Linked DNA regions of Homo sapiens: regions 1 and 2 are each linked to region 3. Evidence: promoter capture Hi-C in human tissues and cell types (Jung and others, 2019). All regions are on one chromosome and are shown on one strand. The core of a region is centred on a gene start or on the middle of the fragment in contact, and the rest is flanking DNA. Distances in the headings are between cores, read along the strand shown. Region 1 holds the start of NDUFA7 (NADH:ubiquinone oxidoreductase subunit A7). Region 2 holds the start of MCOLN1 (mucolipin TRP cation channel 1). Region 3 holds the start of MAP2K7 (mitogen-activated protein kinase kinase 7).

Evidence for each region. The method cuts DNA at HindIII sites, captures the fragments that hold promoters and counts their contacts. A contact is called where the count stands out against the background at its distance.
Region 1: the fragment with the promoter of NDUFA7 here is called in contact with the fragment with the promoter of MAP2K7 in region 3 in 1 of the 25 tissues and cell types used here (spleen).
Region 2: a contact is called between the fragment with the promoter of MCOLN1 here and the fragment with the promoter of MAP2K7 in region 3, in 1 of the 25 tissues and cell types used here (lymphoblastoid cells).

The regions. Positions count from the first base shown.
Region 1 is chr19:8,320,085-8,322,784 of GRCh38, reverse strand. NDUFA7 (NADH:ubiquinone oxidoreductase subunit A7) reads left to right here and starts at 1,410. Exons shown (of 4, transcript NM_005001.5): 1 at 1,410-1,477; 2 at 1,879-1,928. The coding sequence starts at 1,427. RPS28 (ribosomal protein S28) reads right to left here and starts at 1,289. Exons shown (of 4, transcript NM_001031.5): 1 at 1,216-1,289; 2 at 1,082-1,129; 3 at 694-832; 4 at 1-513. The coding sequence starts at 1,254. The coding sequence ends at 710. KANK3 (KN motif and ankyrin repeat domains 3) reads left to right here. Exons shown (of 11, transcript NM_198471.3): 11 at 1-201. RefSeq lists enhancers at 1-386, 387-1,354, 1,261-1,500, 1,355-2,322, 2,323-2,700. The HindIII fragment of the contact is 5,252 bases long and covers 1-2,700 here.
Region 2 is chr19:7,521,207-7,524,087 of GRCh38, reverse strand. It overlaps MCOLN1 (mucolipin TRP cation channel 1), which reads right to left and starts at 1,464. Exons shown (of 14, transcript NM_020533.3): 1 at 1,307-1,464. The coding sequence starts at 1,337. It overlaps LOC105372261 (a long non-coding RNA gene), which reads left to right. Exons shown (of 3, transcript XR_936294.3): 2 at 926-1,246. RefSeq lists a silencer at 1,301-1,430. The HindIII fragment of the contact is 17,633 bases long and covers 1-2,881 here.
Region 3 is chr19:7,902,511-7,905,210 of GRCh38, reverse strand. It overlaps MAP2K7 (mitogen-activated protein kinase kinase 7), which reads right to left and starts at 1,334. Exons shown (of 11, transcript NM_145185.4): 1 at 1,143-1,334. The coding sequence starts at 1,266. LOC124904630 (a long non-coding RNA gene) reads left to right here and starts at 1,697. Exons shown (of 2, transcript XR_007067121.1): 1 at 1,697-1,790; 2 at 2,462-2,700. RefSeq lists enhancers at 292-831, 1,480-2,057 and a silencer at 773-1,122. The HindIII fragment of the contact is 24,212 bases long and covers 1-2,700 here.

The DNA.
Region 1 (2,700 bases), core at 161-2,660, 420 kb before region 3:
CCTCAGCCTTTGGCGCACAGAAGGGTCCAGGGTCCCCTGCTCAGAGGCTAACACTGGCCGAAGAGAAAGGCAATTTCAGTTGGGGTGACTGTGGCAGGAAGGGGCTCACTCTGGCCCCACCAAGGTGAGGTGGGGACCAAGTGATAGAGCCCTGATCCACCCACTCTCTGAAACTTCTTTGCTAATAAAACATTCCTACTACGCTTGTGTTTTGTTTGGGGTAGAGGGTGCAATCGACAAACACGACCCCCCGCCTCAAAAAGGAAAAGCTTCGTTTGGCAAGACCGCACGGCCAGGATTTCCAGAGTGCGGAGGATCGGTGACCGCCTGGGAGCCACTCAAGAAACCTGGAGAAACCCTAGTCGTATAACCCAGACAAGAACCTGAGTTAACTTGAAACACAAACGCTTTATTTAAAGGAGCATCTCAGTTACGTGTGGCGGACAAAAAAAAGGAGCAGACTGTGACAGACCATTCCCATCGGCCAAGTGGTCGAACCCGACATCCAAGACCCTGTAAACAGACCCAAACATGAGATGTTGACAGGCCCCGCAGCAATTGGCAAACTCCCGCCTCCCTCTTGTCAGTCTCTGTATGTAGACTCTGCCTCCCAAACCCTCTCACCCTGGGCTTAACGAAGCCTCCCTACCACCAACCAAAGGTCTATCAAAGGGGTGTCCTCTTTGCACCCACCAGCGAGCAGCCAAGCTCAGCGCAACCTCCGGGCTTCTCGCTCTGACTCCAAAAGGGTGAGCACGTCGCCCTCGCGCACGGGGCCTTTTACATTGCGGATGATGGATCGGCTCGTGTCGTCCATGAATTCCACGCGCACCTACGGGTCCCCACCGGAGTGGAGGAAGAAGTAAGGGCGGGCCGCGGAAAGGCACCGCGGAGTGGGAAGCAGATATGAATTCAGAGAACGTGTCGGGGCCAGAATACAGATCGTTAAAGGGAACCATCAGAACCCCGTGATGAAATGAGAATCGGCTCCCGGATTCCGGCTGGCAGGGGTTAGGGCAGGGTAGAGGTCACATCAGGGTTTAGGTCGCCGGCAGTCGGCCAAATGCCCCCACCCGATTACCTGCGTGCACTGTCCCTGAGAACCGGTCCTGCCCAGGACCTTGGTGACCTGGAGGAAAGAAGCTGGGTTCAGACCCGGCCCGTTTGGCTCCTCTAATCCCTCCCCCTGCCCCCAAATTCGGGCCCCCACCTCACCCTGGCCAGCTTGATAGGCTGCACACGGCTGGTGTCCATGATGGCGGCGCGGCGGCGGTCTGGCGGAGAGGAGTCACGTGCTTCGGGGAGAGCCTTTATAGGACGTTCTAGCACCGCCCACTCCCGTCTCGCGATACCACGCCGCGTCTTTCCCAGCAGCCCCAGCGGTGGAGACGTCACCGGCTGCGCCCTTCAGTATCGCGGACGGAAGATGGCGTCCGCCACCCGTCTCATCCAGCGGCTGCGGAACTGGGCGTCCGGGGTGCGCGGGGCGGACAGGGCTGCACCATGGGGGGCTTCGGGCTCCGTGTGTCCGGGACCCGCTCCTGCTCCTCACCTCCCTCCTAAGCCGGGACCCTTCGCTCTCCCCGAATCTCCCTGGGAACCCCCAGCTAGTCACCCCTTCAGCCCGGGACCCTCTCCTGGCCTGGGAACCACTCAGGCCTGGGATTTCCCCAGTCCCCGACCTTCTTAGCCTTGGATCTGTGGGCCCGGACTCTGGCTTTGCTCTTCACCTGCAGGACCCACATCCGTTTCCCCGAGTGTTCATCCCCTGCCTTCCCTTAAAATGCGCATCCCCGGACCATCCCTGGTCCCTTGCCCTCTCCTTTCCTCTCTCCTGGGGTGCCTTGCAGGCCGACCTCTCCTCTCCTCTTCCCACAGCATGACCTGCAGGGGAAGCTGCAGCTACGCTACCAGGAGATCTCCAAGCGGTGAGCAGGCCCCGCTCGCTGCCCAGCCTCTGGCTCTGTCCTTTCTCCACCAAAAACGAAATCTGTGTTCCTTTAGACCCCTGAAACGGAGGGCTGACATCCTGCCACCAGTCCCCTGCCAGGCTGTGGAGGCAGAGGTTTGCCTTTAACCTTGCTGAACTCCGGAGGACAGCCCTCCTGAAACAGCGAGGCCGGGCGTGCATTCTGACTGGCAATCAGGCTAGATTTGCAGTGCTCAGCGTGGCCATGTTAGTCAGTGTTATCCCCAAGCTACAGATGAAAAAAGAGGTCCAGAGAGGCGAAATCATTTGCCTCAAGTCACTCAGAAGCTAAAAAGTGGCAGCGGGGACTTGAACCCAGAAGTGTCCTGATTTCAGACTCATTTATATTAAAATATTAGTTGATATTTACAAGCCCCCGTCATGTATGACCTCAGCCTTGGGTTTAACTTTGTGAACCAGGAAAGTTCTTATCCACATTCTTTCATGGACGCCACATTCTAGGGAGAAGCATAGTAGGGAAACAAACACAGCAGGTAGTATTGTTCTGGAATGCTTTGAAGACAAAACAAAATAAGTGGAAGCTGGAGGGTGGCTACGTAAAGTCAGATGATTGGGAAAGATCTTTCTTTGGAAATTGACAGTTGAGTCCCCTGAATGATGGGAAGGACCCATTCAAAGAATAATTATTGAAAAAACATTCTGACCGGGCGCGGTGGCTCACGCTTGTGATCCCAGCACTTGGGGAGGCTGAGGCAGGCGGATCACGAGGT
Region 2 (2,881 bases), core at 215-2,714, 380 kb after region 3:
GATCCAGCCTAGGTAATACAGCGAGACCTCCCTGTCTACAAAAAAAAAACATTTTTTTTAAATAGTCAGGTGTGACGGCTCATGCCCGTAGTTAGTAGCTGGGACCCCATCTACCCGGGAGGCTGAGTTGGGAGGATCACTTGAGCCCAGGAGTTCGATGTTACAATGAGCTAGGATTATGCCACTGCACTACAGCCTGGGCAACAAAAAAAAGTTTATTAAAAAAAAAAAAAGTCCACCCTCTCCCTGAGCCTTGAGGTTGAGATCCTGAAGCTGCTCTGAGAATTCAGTGAGACACAGCAGATAAAGACCTCTTCAGCAAACACAAGCTGTTCTAATCACTGTTTATTTTTTTCCAGCCTAATGGTTAGATCTAAGCTTTCAGCAACTGCTGGAGTCAAAACCAGTCACAGTAGCCCAAAACTGTCCCTGTCACACCCCCATGGGGATGTGCTTTCTAGGGCCTGGCCCCGTGCTGCTTTCTAGGGCCTGGCCTCCTGCCTAGCAAAGCAGTCAGGATAAATGTGTGCACTGTCAGAACCTCCCTTGCAGAGAGGGACAAGTTCCCGGCCCCTCCCTTTGCAATGAGATGCTGCTGTGGCTGTTTACGACAAAGCCAGAGGGCAGGGCCCGCTTACAGAGCTGAGATTACAGCTAACCCACCCCAGACCCTACTAGCTGGGACACCGGGACATCTATCAGGTAGGGGTCCCCAGCTAGCTCCAGAAGGGGAAGCTAACACAAGGGGTCTTCCTCCAGCCTCCCCGAGGAGGGGTGGCATCAGAATTGGCTAGAAGCCCGAATTTAAGAAGGCTGCGCTTCCAGCGGTTTGGAAAGCTAAAACTGAGTTAATCGCCTGGGGGCAATCCCTCCAGCTCTCCAGGCTTGAGCTTAGGGAAGCTGAGCATTTGTCCCCTGGAATCAGGAGGGGAAGCCTGGGAGTCTCACGTGCGGGTTGGAGAAGCTGGTGCCCGCTGTCTGAGTTCCAGACGAAGTTGAGCAATCGGAACCTAGGCTCCCAGTGGGAATCCCAGGAACCTCGCCGCCCCAGAGGGAGAAGCTGGCGGCCCGGCGCGATCCCTGCCTGAGTTTGGGAACCCAGCAGAGCCTGGGTTCAGGAGGAAGAATTGGAGAGGCTGGTGCCCACCCGCCGCCCAAGTTCTAGGAGCCGTCTGCCCTTTTCTCCACCGTGAAAAGTCAGCGCTGGAGCTTAGAAAAAAAGAGACTAGGAGCTCCGCCGCCCCAGGTGGGAGACACAGCCCGCCCGCCTGAGTTCGGGGCCCCACGGTGCCGCCCGCGCCCTCACCTGAGCCGCGCGGACCCGCCGGGGCTGTCATGCTGGGGCGGGAGCGCGGGACGCAGGCGGGTACGGCGGGGCAGCCTGGGTCCGATCGCCCGCCGCTGTCACTGCGACCTCGCTCCCTCGCGGCGCGGCTTCAAACCCTCCGGCATCAGCTGATCTGTGCCTCGGTCACGTGACCCGGTAGCCCAGAGCCCCTCACGTGACCGCCTCTGGTCCCGCCCCCTGCGCCACGACAACCCCTGCCGGAACAGCGCGCATGCGTGCCTCTGCCGGCGCCCTCTGGGTCGAAGGCAGTCGCTAGGTCCTAGCGCCGACGCGCTCTGGGTGGCGGGGGATGGGCTGACTCTGAGTTTGGCAACGACGAGCTCTGCCCTGGCTCCCGGCCATGCCCCGAATCCGGTGCCAGGCTTGTGACTTCCATGTCCAGAGCTTGACCCCTTATCCTCCTTGGTGCCTGGTGATGACCCTGCCTACTATCTCAACGCTGTCTTCCTCTTTCTCCCAGAAACTCCTTTTACCCTTCTCCTGCGCATCTTCAGCAAACACGATTTCCTAATTATGTATCAAATAGAACCACTTATCCCCACCCCATGGCCCCCAGCCCAGAGTCTTCCAACATTCCTGGCCTGGATCTTTGCAGCAACCTCCTCCCCGATCTCAGCCTCCCTCCACTCCACTCTCTACCCAGCAGCCACAAGCATCTTCAAAGAATAATTCCTATCCTTCCTGCGAGAACCTGCCCTCGGCTTCCCATTGCTCTGTAATGACAGGCAGAGTCCCCACTCTCGTCTATCAGGGCCCTCTGATCTGGCTCCTACCTCCATCCAAAGCTCATCTTTCTATAGCCCCAGAGCCTTTGCATACTTTTGCCCTGGAGCGTAATGGTTAAGAATTTGGACCCTGGAGGGCAATTGGGATTTAAATCTAGGCACTGACAATGCCACTTCTACATCTTCCAGAGTCCCTTCAACTCCAAGCTGAGCGCAGTGGGCGGTGGCATGCACCGGCAATCCCAGCTACTCGGGAGGCTAAGGTGGGAGGATCGCTTGAGCCCAGGAGGTCGAGGCTGCAGTGAGCTATGATCACACCACTGCACTCCAGCCTGGGCAACAGAGCAAGACTGTCTAAAAAAAAAAAAAAAAATGTGCCTCAATTTTCTCATTTGCAAAATGGGGATATTCAAAGTCATCTACCTACTGGGGCTGTTGAGAGGATTAAATGAGAGAATGCAAAAACTATCGCATAAGGCTGGGCAAACAGTACTGATTATTAAATTAGTGATTATTGGGATTACAAAATCCTTCATTGAGAAAGCTGCCTGCCATTTATATCAGAAGTCTTGTTATGCTTCTCCTAGAATGTACTATACCCCGTAATTATTTTTTAAGTATTCTGAATTTAGTATCTATGAGCTCCATGCAGGTCGAGGCCATATTTATCTTGTTCCCTGCTGAGACCCCAGCAATCCAGAGATGTTTGTTGATTGCATAAATGAGCAACTTTTTTTGTCCACTTGTATACCTACTGTATGGGCTTTGAAGAGCAAGGGGTAAGTGAGAGGAACAGAGAGTGGTGACT
Region 3 (2,700 bases), core at 85-2,584:
GGTCACATCAGAGGAGACAAGAGAGAATTTTACTGGGTCAAGAAAGACACAAAAAGGATCATGGGTCAGGGGTGGTGTTCACAGGGTTTGAAAATCTAATTTCCTCCAGCCCAGAGGATTTAGAGACCAGGATCTTGGGGAAAAAGCCGGGAGACTAGATATGGTCAGTGTTCCCAGGCCAGGTGTGTGTGAAGCGAGAGGTACTGATCTAGGATGACAAGGTGTCAGGGAGGTAGGTACCGAGGTGGTGGGACTGATCAGAAAGCAGGTGGATGTATGCTGGGGCGCGGCGGGAGCAGGCCTAGAGTCACACTGGCCCCAGGTGTCCCCAGGTCAGGTGGGTGTGGGTGTGAAGGGAAGGGGAGCCATCACTTGAACACAGGTGACAAAGTCACCGGGCTGGCTGGGGGTCGATGTGCATTTCTGGAGGTCAGACACCACACGCTCACCAAGATGGTGGCAGTGAAACTGGTCACAGGGATTTGCGGGGCCTGGTGTATGTGGGAGGGGGTCTGCTGAGCCCAATGCCATGGTCACTGTCGCCAAGAGGGGGAGAAGGGACCCCCTCCCGTCCCCCCACCTCAGACACGGTCACAGGGAGAGCGAGAGGGAGAATCCTCGGGTCAGAAGAGATGGGGAGGGGCTCTATGTGGTCAAGTAACCTCAGGTGTCCCCGAGCCAGGCGTGCGCGTGTGCGTAGATCGTCGCTGCACGGGGCTGACAAGCCCCCAGGCCGGGGGAGGGGGGCGCCAGACAGTCCCTGAGATGACGAGAGTGGTAGCATCAGGTCAACAGGGACGTGTCTGTGTTTTCGGGGCGACCTGGATGTGGTCACTGTCGCGTGGAGTCGGGGAAGCCCGACCCAGAGGATCACGGCGATGGGGGCGGGTCATCAGCTGGGGGCCTCGCCTGGGTCCGGGAACTGGGCTCCCAAGCCCTGAGGGTGCGAACCCCCCGGAGCTCGCCGGCTCCACGCCCCCCGGGTCACCGTGACCCTCGCCCCGCGAGCCCGCAGCGGGGGGGGCGGAGAGGAGAGCGAGCGCCCCGGAAGCGGGGGCGGGGCCTTGTGGTGGGGGCGGGGCCTCCCGCGGCGCGCGCCCCGCCCCGCCCGCCCGCCCCCTCCCCCACGCCGCCGTGCTTACTGGGCCTGGGCCGCTGGGGGCTGATATCCAGGTTGAGGTCGATCCTCCGCCGGGCCTCCCGGTTCTCCTGCTTCAGCTTTGCTTCCAGGCGGGACAGCTTCTGTTCCAGGGAGGACGCCGCCATCTTCCCCGCCGCCACCGCCGCCGCGCACCGCCCGGCCGCCCGTCAGTCCGGCAGACAAACACCGCACTGCGCCTGCGCCCGGATGACCCCGTCGAGCCGCCGTCTCGCCCCGCACCGCGCATGCCCGCGGCGCGCACCCGCCCTTCTCCGCGTGCGAACCTCCGCGCGTGCGTGCTTCGGCTCAGCCCGAAGGATGACGCCACCTAGAGCTCGAGGCAGGCAACGTGCAACCCCCGCCTTCGTCGCCACCACCACCGTAGTGCGCATGCGCCAATTCCCGATCGCTCCTGAGAGAGGCGCTGCGAGGAAACACCATTCTTCTGAGGACGGTGGGCGGGGAAAACGGCGCGCATGCTTAGCGAGGCGAAGCCGTGTTCGCCCGCGTGGCTTTTGCGCATGCGCATTCCTGGAACCTCGTTCCCAAAGCGGCAGTCGATCCCTGGTCTCCACGGCGGTGCAGCCTCAGCCTCCTCGCTTTTCACGGTCGGCTTGGGCGTCCCTTCGGAATGCCTTCCTCACTGATGGTGCTTTATTAGGATTCCTCTTGTGCTTAATTACCTCCTAGCCTCCTGCTGGCAGCGGGGTGCCGCCTCCTCACCGTAATTAGGCTCCGTCGAGAGCCCTTTCCCTTCTTGCCAGCCCCAGCAGGCTCAGAGTTGGCCGAAGCCAGGGGGGAGGGGACGGCCATGGGAACCCAGCGGTGTGACCCCTGCCCTCGGCGACGGGGCCAAGGTCAAGGCCAGAGTTGTTGGCCAGACCCACATAGAACCTCAAGACACCCCCCTTATCTCTCTCGCACCCGGAACGTGAGCCCAGCGCCTGGACGTGGAGAATTCCTATCTGAGGAGGGGCGCTGGGGTTAGGTGCCAGTGCTTGGGCCCCCGGCAGCCTAAACCACTCCTTTAAGTGGTCCGACGGGTGCTGGGGAAATGTCCCATCTGGAACCCAGGGATCCCCCCAAGAGCGGCTTCCCTCTGCTCTTAGATGCGAGAAGGAAGTTCTGATTTTGCGGACACCCGGGAGGTGGCCAGGGCCAGGCAGACTCTGCCAAGTGCCCTTCCAGCTTCTGGTCCAACGAGGGAACACTTTGGGATGAGAGTTACCGGCTTGTCGGAACTCCTCTGGTGACGATTTGTGGGTGGAGCACACACAAGTGTAGAGTTATAGCTGAGGTCTTTACCTTTCCGTCTTCCAGGCAGCCTTCTGTGCCTCTGCTCTGAGAACATGAGACTCATCCTTGATTCTGGCACACGGGTGTTACTTGGTCACATGAAATAAAAGGTTACGGGCATGGTGGTTCACGCCTGTAATCCCAGCACTTTGGGAGGCCGAGGCGGATGGATCACGAAGTCAGGAGAGGACCAGCCTGGCCAAGATGGTGAAACCCCGTGTCTACTAGAAATACGAAAATTAGCCGGGCATGGTGGCAGGCGC